Regions from separate parts of the Homo sapiens genome. Here all the other regions are linked to region 1. Evidence: promoter capture Hi-C in 16 types of primary human blood cells and fetal thymus (Javierre and others, 2016). All regions are on one chromosome and are shown on one strand. Each heading gives the region's core, a stretch centred on a gene start or on the middle of the fragment in contact. The rest is flanking DNA. Distances are from core to core; before and after follow the strand shown. Region 1 holds the start of KCNQ5 (potassium voltage-gated channel subfamily Q member 5). Region 2 overlaps KCNQ5 (potassium voltage-gated channel subfamily Q member 5). Region 3 overlaps KCNQ5 (potassium voltage-gated channel subfamily Q member 5).

Region 1 (3,143 bases), core at 40-2,539:
CCCGATCTCTGTCAGAGGCGACCCATTTGCGCTTCTGCTATCGCACCTCCGCCCGCGTTCCTGCGCCCCAGGTTCCCCGCTGCCTCCCCGCCCCCTGCAGCGCGGGAGCGTTGCTTCGCCTGGCCTGCTGGCCTCCTCTAGACCTTGGCCACCTTCTCCGTGGCAGGAAGGGCTACATGCACTGACAGATTTTCCGTTGGTGGTGGCTGGGTGGTGGCGAGGCGTGTTTCCGGGCGCGCTTAAAACCTAGCAGCTCTCTCCAAGTAGCAGCTTCCCCTACTCCGCCCCTAGGACTGAGGACCTAGCCCTCGATGCCCCCTCACTTCTCCCCGTCCTACCCCGCCATCACCTCCTAACCTCTCCAGTATACTCTCAAGCCTCACACGGGCGCCTGTCCTCCCTTTGCATTCCCTAGCTCCCGGGCGCCCCGTTCGGTTGAAGTTTACGTATCTTGGGACCTAATTGCTCCCAATTATCCGCGCAGCCTAAGTCCCGCGTCTGCCTGGCTCTCGCCCCGGGAGCCTGAAGCTACCGGGCAGTTCATTGGGTGTCCTCGGGGAAAAGGTTCAAGCTGTAGAGATGAGAGAAGTGGGGCTGGGGGAGGGGAGAGGCTCCAGAAGGAAGACCACGAACACGTGCGAAGAAATAAAAGCCACCACGTGTGCACGCGCGCGGGGGCCCAAGGGCGCGAGCGCGGAGCACGCCCCAGGGGGCCAGGGACAGTGGTCCCCTGCAGCGGGCATAGCAGGGGGCGCGGGTACTCACACGAAAGCGTGGTAGATGAACGCCCAGCCGCGGGGTCTCTCCAGCACGTTGTACAGGTAGTTCTGCACCCGCCGGTACTTGACGTTGCGCCGGCAGCTCTGGCTACTCGTGTAAGAGAGCGGCTTCCCCAGCAGGCTCATCCGGGCCCCCTGCTTGCCCCGGCGGCTCTCCCTCAGGCCACCGCCGCCGCCACCGAGCGTGGCCGCGCGGGTGCCCAGCAGTAGCAGGCCGTCGCCCCTGGCGGCTGCCGAGTTCAGCAGCACCCTGCCCCGGCCGGACTCCACATCCTTCATGCCGCTGCCCAAGCGCCCCCCGCCCGCCGCCGCCGCCGCTGCGCCGCTCTTCACCCAGAGCCCGGCGGCGCCGCCCTCCTCTCCTCCCGCGTGGTGGCGGGGCATGGCATCACCACGGGCACCGCGAGGGGGCCGCCAGCGCCTGCGGCGGGGGCAGCGGCCTCATGTGCGCCGGCGGGTTTCAAGGAGGAAGCCGGCGGCCGACGGGGCGCCCGCCAGCCAGAGACCTCTGAGCCGGGGGCGGGGAAGCAGGCAGCCAGCAAACCGCCCGGGCTTCGGGGCGGGAAAGGAGGGGCTGCAGAGGAGGCCGAGGAGTCCCAATTTCTAACAGCCTTTAGCTTCGAATTCTAAATCCGGACCTGTTTGGGGCGTCACTTTGAGAGGGTTTCTCTTGCTCCCTCATTCCCGCGACTACCACTCCCTCCTTCCCAAACTGCCCCCGGGGATAGAGTGGGGGAGTGCGGGGCGCTCCGAGGCGCGCTCCCACGCGCGCACACCCAGCCCCAGGCTTCCCCTTCCCTCTCTCCACTCCCCACGCCCTGCAGCGAAACGGCCCCAGAAGCCCCTCTCCGAGGCGCGAGTTCGGTTTGGTTCTGGCAGGGGCTTTGCAGCTGTCCGGAAGGTGAAGTCAGCCTTGTGTCCTGAGGAGAAACTGGAGATGCAGGTCGCTGTGCCCTCCCGCTGCTACGTCGCTGCGCCGGATCCTGCCATCCTTCCGCAAGGGGTGAGAGCGGGAACAGCCCTGCCCTGCCTTCCAGGTATTATCTAGCCTGGAGGCTGGAGCGCAAGGTAACGCTCCGGGAAGTGGCACTCGGGTCCCCGCACACGGGCGAGTCCTCAGCAGTTCAGTGGACAGACCCGCAGGACGCGGCTGCCAAGTCCGCGAGGCAAGGACCAGGCATCTTCCCGCGCCTCACTCCAGCCTGCGGACTGTGACTTTCCATCCCAGTATCAGACAAGCTCGCGAGTAACTGAACATCCTTTCCAGTCCATGGGTGGGGTGTGGAAAGGGCGTAAAACTCCAAAGTGGCTCCTCCGCGGTGAGCGAGCTGCCCCGGGGCTCTGCCTGACTGCAGCGCGAAGCCTGGGAGAACAAACCCAGTTCCCTCCGTCAAGAAATTTCCATTTAAGTCCGAGAAAGTCATATGATTGAGAAGTTCAGCAGCGGCGGCGAGGACCCAGTGTCTGGGAAAGAACACCTGGAGGATGGGGTGTCCAGGACGCCGGCTTTTCGGGGTTCCGACCCCACCCACCTTATGTTGTAACATACAAGCTTAGAGACCTGTTGCAAGGAACAACTGACTGGGTCTTCCACCACCCCTGGCACCCGGGTGGCCCAAAGCCTATGCGCCCTTGGCGGAGAGAGAGGCCACGGTGCCACTGGCCGCAGCCTCTGGCCTTCAGAAACAGTGTATTACAAAGAAAAGGCAGTTTAAATCTCACATTCAGCATAGGGAAAACTGAAGGGTGCCAGGCTCGGGGACTTCTTCCAACAGAGTGGCTCTTCCCCAAATATGAAAGAAAATCATCAAATTAAATTGAAGGCAAAACTAAGCTTCCACCACAAAGACATAGCAGATAGTTGCAAGGTGGATTCCTTCGGGCCTTTTCCTTTCCTAAGGCTAAAACAATGCTAAGACAAAAGTCTTCTTGCAGCTGTCTCCGCCCCTCCGAGATAAATACTTTCCCAATTCTCCCCCACCCTGTACACACACCCACGCCCGCGGCAGCTGATTTCTGTCTTCTGCAATAGCTCGATTTAAATGCTTTGCTTTTACTCTTTATTATCACTATTATTTGTGTGAAGCCCTCTCGCCTGCTCCTGGTCACCAGCAGGAGCCTGCTTCCCTCCCTCCTTCCCCCCAAGCCTCTGGGCAGCAGAAGCTAGCTGGGAGCTCTGTGCAGCTGGCGGCGACGCCATGTGACTGTGAGCCGAGCACCATCACCCAGAGTCACTCTCTAGCTTTCCCCTAATACACTTCACACCCACGCACTGTGGAGGTGCGAGAGAGGTTGCTCCGTGCGGTGCTATTCGAGGCAGATGCAGAGAGCGCCCTGGAGTAAGCTCTCCAATCCTAGAGCTGC
Region 2 (3,329 bases), core at 530-3,029, 270 kb before region 1:
TAAATAGAGAATGGATGATAGGGGATTCTAGAATAGTCTTGCCTGATAATAGCGATTATATTTTTGTTTTAAAATTCAGCATCTAAAATCAGTATATGTTTATATATTTCTTTATTTTAGGAAGGATTAAACAAGATGGTAGAGTTGCACCTTAGGTGGCACTGAATTCTAACATCGGTGCATAAATTATGCAACTCCATTATTTTTGAGGCATTCATTACATGACTGTAGATTATGTAACCATTTTGGGGGGCATATGGAGCAGGCAATTTTAGTTATATGGTGTTTTCTTTAAGTCACTTTAATTTGTCACCTTTTTCTAGGCTTTTTAGCCATGGTTAATAGTGATAGTAATCAGGTAAGAGTATTAAAATCATAGGTGATCTGGGTATGAAGGATCCTTTATCCACATATCTTCATTCATATATTGATAATTCTCTAGAATATCTGAATTGACACTTTTTGAGTATGTTCATCCAACCATTTACACATCCAACCATTTACACATACTCAAGTGTAGAATTGAATAAATGAACATTTTCTGAAGACTTTCATGTTAGATTTTGTCAACTACTTTACTGAAATCTGAATTTAACTGTGCAATACTAGCATTATGGACATAGTAAATCTGTCAAACAAGGAATTAAAGTAAGAGTAATGTGATTTGTTATTGGTGAGCACAGACAGGATCCCAAGGACACTTGCTTTTCAAAGTACTCATATACCCACCTATTAAATCCATTCTGGAATATTGCTTTTGATCAATATGAAGCTTGTTGGCTCTTGAAATTGCCTAACATAGTAGAATCAACAATAAAATTTGTCTGTCTCTAGTCTTCCAGCACCTTTCCCATTTCCCAAAATTCTTCCACAACAGTGGACAATAATTTGTTAATCTGATTTAGGAGTTTTGCAGATACTTGGATAGAGTTCATTCCATTCCAATTACTGGAACTCCCTTGGGAGGGCTACATGTTCTCTTTACAAGGGCCAGATGTTTGGTGTCAATCTTGATGTTCACAATTCTTTCTACTGTCTTCTGATATGATATGCTTATGTGATGTGGGGCTTTTGCAAAGCTTGTCACTGGGACCTCCACTTTACTTTTAGTTAAGACACAAAGGTTTTTATCTGATAATTTATGAAATACAAATCTATTTCGATCAAGAATAAGAACCTCGGCAAGATGGTTTTGATCCTGGTGTGTCCTACTATTCCATCCATTCTCAAATGGTGCCAGTGGTGGCACAATTCATGACCACTAGGCACACAACCTCCCATAGCAGCAGCCACTGCCACACACCACAACCCCACTGCTATTCTCAATGACTTGTTTTAATGCAACCTAATAACTTCCCCCACAAACAGCTCTTTCATGTATAGAGTTGCCACAGAAATGAAAAACCCTATATACAGTTTCAGTCATACCAGATGAGTAAGTTCTAGAGATCTGCTGTACAATATAGTACCTATAGTTAACAATATGGCATCGTACCCTTTAAAGTATGTTAAGAGGATAGAGCTCATGTTACTTGCTCTTATCACAAAGCAAAACAAAACCACAAAAGAACACAAGGTAATTTTGACAGGTGATGAATATGCTTAGTATGCTGATTATGGTGATGGTATCACAAATATGTACATATGTCCAAACCCATCAAAATGTATATATTAAATATATGCAATTTTAAATATATCAATTATGTTTCAACAGAGCTTTTCTAAAAAGAGAAACAAACAACCCTGCTTCAAAGCTAATCCTGCCCTCCTGGGCAGAGGGCACTGTGACTGCTCGCTGAGGGTAAATAGACATCTTCTTGGGAGGCTGGGCACCTTCCAAGCACCATTCAGCTCTGACTGAATTCAGTTCTCTCTGCCTTGTACCCTACATATTCATGGAGGTTTCTGCATATAGGGCTGCAAACAGCCACACTGCCCTTAGCAAATGTCCAAGAAGGCTTGGGGGCTTTTAAAAATTTATTATTGATACATAGTGGATGTACATGTTTTCTAGGTACATGCAATATTTTGATATATTCATATAATGTCTAATGATCAAATCAGAGTAATTCAGAAATCCATCAACTTAAAAATTTATCTTTTCTTTATGCAGGGGGGACTTATTTAAAAAATTGTAGCTTACCATTTGGTAATTGACTAAAATATTTCTGTGTTCTCTTCTTTGTGCCACTGAAACCTGATAGACTGATTTTGCTGCTGAATTGAGATAAAACTATAGTTTCTAGCATGGCGCTTGGCACATAGTAGATGCTGAGTCAAGGTGAGTTTGTTTCTCTTACCATGGCCTTGGTGGTACTGCTTCATTTTATACCTTCAATAATCAGAGATGGCAAGAAAGGAGGGTGGAAGGTGAAGGGAGAATGTAAGTCTTTACTTGAATACATTTCAGGCTATTCCTAATACACACTATAAATGCATCAGTTATATGCTGTTGAGTAGCTCTCTGATCAAAGCTTCCCAGTGGCTTCCGAGGCTCCAAGGTCCTATCTAATCTGCTTCCCCTCTGCCTCATTCTGTTCCAGCCACAGTGACTTCCTTGATGTTCTTCAACACACCAAGCACAATCACACTCCAGGGTCTTTAACTTTATTGTTGCTGCTGCCTGGAATACTGTTCATTCGATATTTGCATGGTTTTTTCCTTACTGCATTCAAGTCCTAGTTCAGATATTTCCTTAGCAAGGTTCCCTCATGACACCTAAAAATTGTAATCTTTTCTTTGCTCAGGCACTGTCCATCTCCCTTACTCTCTTTTATTTTTCCATAGTATTTACTAATCTTTAATGTCCTATATAACTTACTTATGTGGAATGTTTATTGTCTGTATCTTCCTATACATATACAAACACACAGAGACACAGACACATAGATGTACATACAGACTGTGGGCTCCATGAAGATAGGGAATTTTTTCTTCTGCGCACTGCTGTATCCCCAGTGCCTATAAAAGTATGCTTGGAAGTAGTAGTTTGCACAATAAATATTAAATGAATTAAAAAATGTGAATGAAGGACTACTCAGGAATGCAACATGGCAGAAAAGTAAGACACCCCTATATTTGGCCAAGTGATGGGTATTCACTAACACTTAGTGGAACTGGAAATTTATTATCTGGGCATTACAAAGAGCAGTAAGGCCCAGGTCATGTGGACTGACATTTGGTTTTACAGTCGTTGTCACTACTTTATGGTCCCCCAATTCTGAGACCAGAAACATGTATGGTTCATCGCAAATGCAGTCTGGATCCCTTCTAAGCCATTATGCTCAGCACCACCAGAATTACTGGTCTCAAAGTAAAATTTGACTATG
Region 3 (3,249 bases), core at 207-2,706, 290 kb before region 1:
TGTATACTTTTGAAAAGCAGCTGCATACATATGTAGGATACATAATACTGATTTTCTACAGTTAAGAGTGGACCCAGGACTCACACACCCCATGCCACAACTCAAAGTCTCCCATTGGTCCTCAGAATACAAATGGGAACCACTGCTCTAGGGAGTAGTTACGTTGACATGGTGCCACTTACTACCGTAAACTCTCATGATGATCTAGTGGCCTTGAAGATGTATTTTAGGTCTGAATTTCTGTAATTTTATCACAAGGGCTAACTTGAGAGTTCCCTAGTCTTGTTTAGCATCAACACTGCCATTGATTAAAATCTTACTGAAATCTACTTGTGGTGAAAAAATAGAAATTGGAAAGATACACCTAAAATTTCAAGCTATTATCCCAAATATTTTGAGTTATTATTTTTATCTAAATTAAATTAGGCTTAATGTATATATCATAAATGAGAATGCAGAAGTATGCACCATTAAAAAAACTTTCATTTTAAGTTCAGGGGTACATGTGCAGGTTTGTTACATAGGTAAATTTGTGTCATGGGGGATTGTTGTACAGATTATTTCATAACCCAAGTATTAAGACTAGTACCCATTAATTATTTCTCCTGATCCTCTCCCATCTCCCACCTTCCACTCTCTGAAAGGTCCCCATGTCCTTTTAAAGGAAGTTAATAAAGTCTTCCAAGTAATAATATAGAATTCAAATAACACCATTGTGATTATCTCTGAGCATCTATTTAAAAATATTTCTGCCTATCTAATGTTTTTAAATACAACAAAGATAGCATTGGAGAACTTTTTTATTTGATACAACGGTCATGAAGATTCATTCCTTTTATGTGTCTAACATTGTGCTAGACTTAAAAGAAAATAAATAATCAAATGAAACTCATCAAGCACTTCTTTGGGATTGTGATTATTATACTAGGAGAATGCCAGATTCAGAAAAATTTGACAATTTGCCCATGGTCACCAAGCTAAAATATCCCATGACTTGAATTTAAACCCAAATTAGTATGGTAACAAAGCCTGAGCATTTTGCATTACACAAGGCTAGAAACCTCTCTGATAAATGAACCAAAAAGGAAAACAGTAGTTGTCAGTGCTGGTAAATCACAAACAGCTCTGACACTAAGCAAGGAGGACCCTGGATTAACAAGAAGGTGAAAAGCTTTATTCTCTAGTGGAAGTATCTATAAATTCAGTAAACAGATCTAATCCATCGATGCTTACTACGAAAAAGTTATGAATTAATATGCCCATTAAGTTTTTTTTTGATTTACCTATATGTACATAGCCCTGTGCTACCACCACACATAATGCCCTCCAAGTAATTAACTATTTTCAGTGACAGTGAGTATACTGGATCCTATCCAAGCTTGATCTGCCAACATTTGGGATGACAATGGCATTGATTAAGGGAAACACTCCAATAACTCATCAGGTATGAATCTGCTTGCTCTTGTACTTTTATCCCCCAATCTCTTTGTCTCTTGGTTGTTAGTAACTAGAACGCTTATATATTTGAAGCTTGCAGTGAAGAATGAGAGCAGAAATGTGCACTGCCAAAGGGGAAATCAGAAAATAAATGGGCAAGCCTCCAGACCACAGAAGCCATCAGCAAAACTGCCAGTTCAGAGGTAATGCAACTTTAGTGGTGAAAGAGTACAATATCTTTAAAGAAGAAAAACTGCTAAAAGGAAAATGCTATCTTGGCAAACAAAATAAAAAACTTTGTCTTTACTCCGGATTTGGACACACCATAAAAACATAGGATGTTCTTAGTTCTGCACACTTGCATTAAACACTTAATCCTAATGCACACTCACTGACAGCTACCATGCTGGCCCCAGTGATGCCTTCTCCTGCCTGGATTTCTCAACAGCATCATAATTGGATTTTCTGCTGTCATACATACTCAACAGTTATTCATTTGTCATCTCCTATTTGCCAAGCACTATTCTAGGCATTGGTCTTACTACTCAGCCCCTTCCCACTTGTCTTAAGTCAGTTTGGGCTACTTAACAAACCACCATAAACTGGTGGCTTGCAAATGATGGAAATTTACTTCTCACAGTTCTAGAGGATGAAAATCTAAGATCAGGGTGTCAGAATGGTGGGGTTCTGGTGAGGCCCCCTTCCGGGTTGCAGACTACCAACTTCTTATTGTAACCTCACATGGCGGAAAGAGAGGCTAGCTAGCTCTCTGGCCTCTTTTCATAAGGACATTAATAACATTCATCAGGGCTCCACCCTAATGGCTTAATTACCTTCCAAAGGCCCAATCTCTTAATACCATCACATTGGGAGTTAGGATTTCAACATAAATTTGGGGTTGGGTGTCATAAACATTCTGTCCTTTGCACCACTCTTTCTCCATTCCGTACATTTAAGCCAGGAGGATTCTTCCAAAACATAAATCTCGTCTTGTCATTTTCTTGCTGTAAAGCCTTCATCGGCTTTCCATTGCCCTTGGGATACAGTTAAAAACTTCTTGGTTAGTATAGCTAACAGAGCTGTTCACAGCCTGACCTGGGCTTCATCTGGAGTCATAGGCACAGGCCCTGTGTGTGAGCTTCTTTGCTCAGGCCTCTCTTTCACTTATCCTCCCTTGCAAGTGTCTAAAACAACATGTATCTTCCATTTATGGGTTCTTGTGGTGGTCAGCTGATATGAAGCTGATAAATCCCTATACCTGTTTCCGTGCTGCTCATAGAGTGAGTACCAAGTCAGATTCATGCTTCCCTCTTTATATATAAATTGATACCTATGTTCACTTTTATCCTCTTTCGGTTTCTTCTTTATGTAGTTATCCAGAGACACAGCAACAAAATTTAGAGTGCAAGGGTATTTGAGTTAGAAGAGAAGGAGGTCCAGGTAAGAAGTGATAAAGTATGGGTAAAGAATAGTACACAGAAGTCAATAATTTATCAGCCACACACACACACACACACACACACACACACACACACACACACCCCCCTACCTTTCCATTCTATAAGAGTTACTATAATTGAAAAGGTTTAGGTTTATGAATGTGTACACACTAATGGCTAATCGGGTGAAGAATGATAGGTAAGAGAATGGTCCATAGGCAGCAGTAGAAAAAATGCAATTCTTATAATATTCAATATAAGCATTATATGCACTGGCAAATGTTTCCTTTTCTACCCCTCACTGTGTTAACACTGAACAAATGTAAACTGTATCATTTTATTTCCTCAACTATAAGATGAGAAGGTTAAAAGA

Evidence for each region. The method cuts DNA at HindIII sites, captures the fragments that hold promoters and counts their contacts. A CHiCAGO score of 5 or more calls a contact.
Region 2: a contact is called between a fragment that was not itself captured here and the fragment with the promoter of KCNQ5 in region 1, in 1 of 17 cell types (megakaryocytes). The highest score is 5.4, in megakaryocytes.
Region 3: a contact is called between a fragment that was not itself captured here and the fragment with the promoter of KCNQ5 in region 1, in 1 of 17 cell types (erythroblasts). The highest score is 5.2, in erythroblasts.

What each region holds. Positions count from the first base shown.
Region 1 is chr6:72,620,210-72,623,352 of GRCh38, reverse strand. KCNQ5 (potassium voltage-gated channel subfamily Q member 5) reads right to left here and starts at 1,289. Exons shown (of 14, transcript NM_019842.4): 1 at 766-1,289. The coding sequence starts at 1,163. It overlaps KCNQ5-DT (KCNQ5 divergent transcript), which reads left to right and starts at 674. Exons shown (of 3, transcript NR_186827.1): 1 at 674-821. RefSeq lists silencers at 1-4, 1,035-1,294 and enhancers at 1-604, 2,715-2,904. The HindIII fragment of the contact is 6,363 bases long and covers 1-2,333 here.
Region 2 is chr6:72,888,502-72,891,830 of GRCh38, reverse strand. All of the region lies in intron 1 of KCNQ5 (potassium voltage-gated channel subfamily Q member 5), which reads right to left. Among named protein-coding and RNA genes, the nearest start is that of MIR4282, 78 kb to the left of the region's middle. The HindIII fragment of the contact is 1,395 bases long and covers 1,082-2,476 here.
Region 3 is chr6:72,910,293-72,913,541 of GRCh38, reverse strand. The region is part of intron 1 of KCNQ5 (potassium voltage-gated channel subfamily Q member 5); the gene reads right to left. Among named protein-coding and RNA genes, the nearest start is that of MIR4282, 56 kb to the left of the region's middle. The HindIII fragment of the contact is 152 bases long and covers 1,381-1,532 here.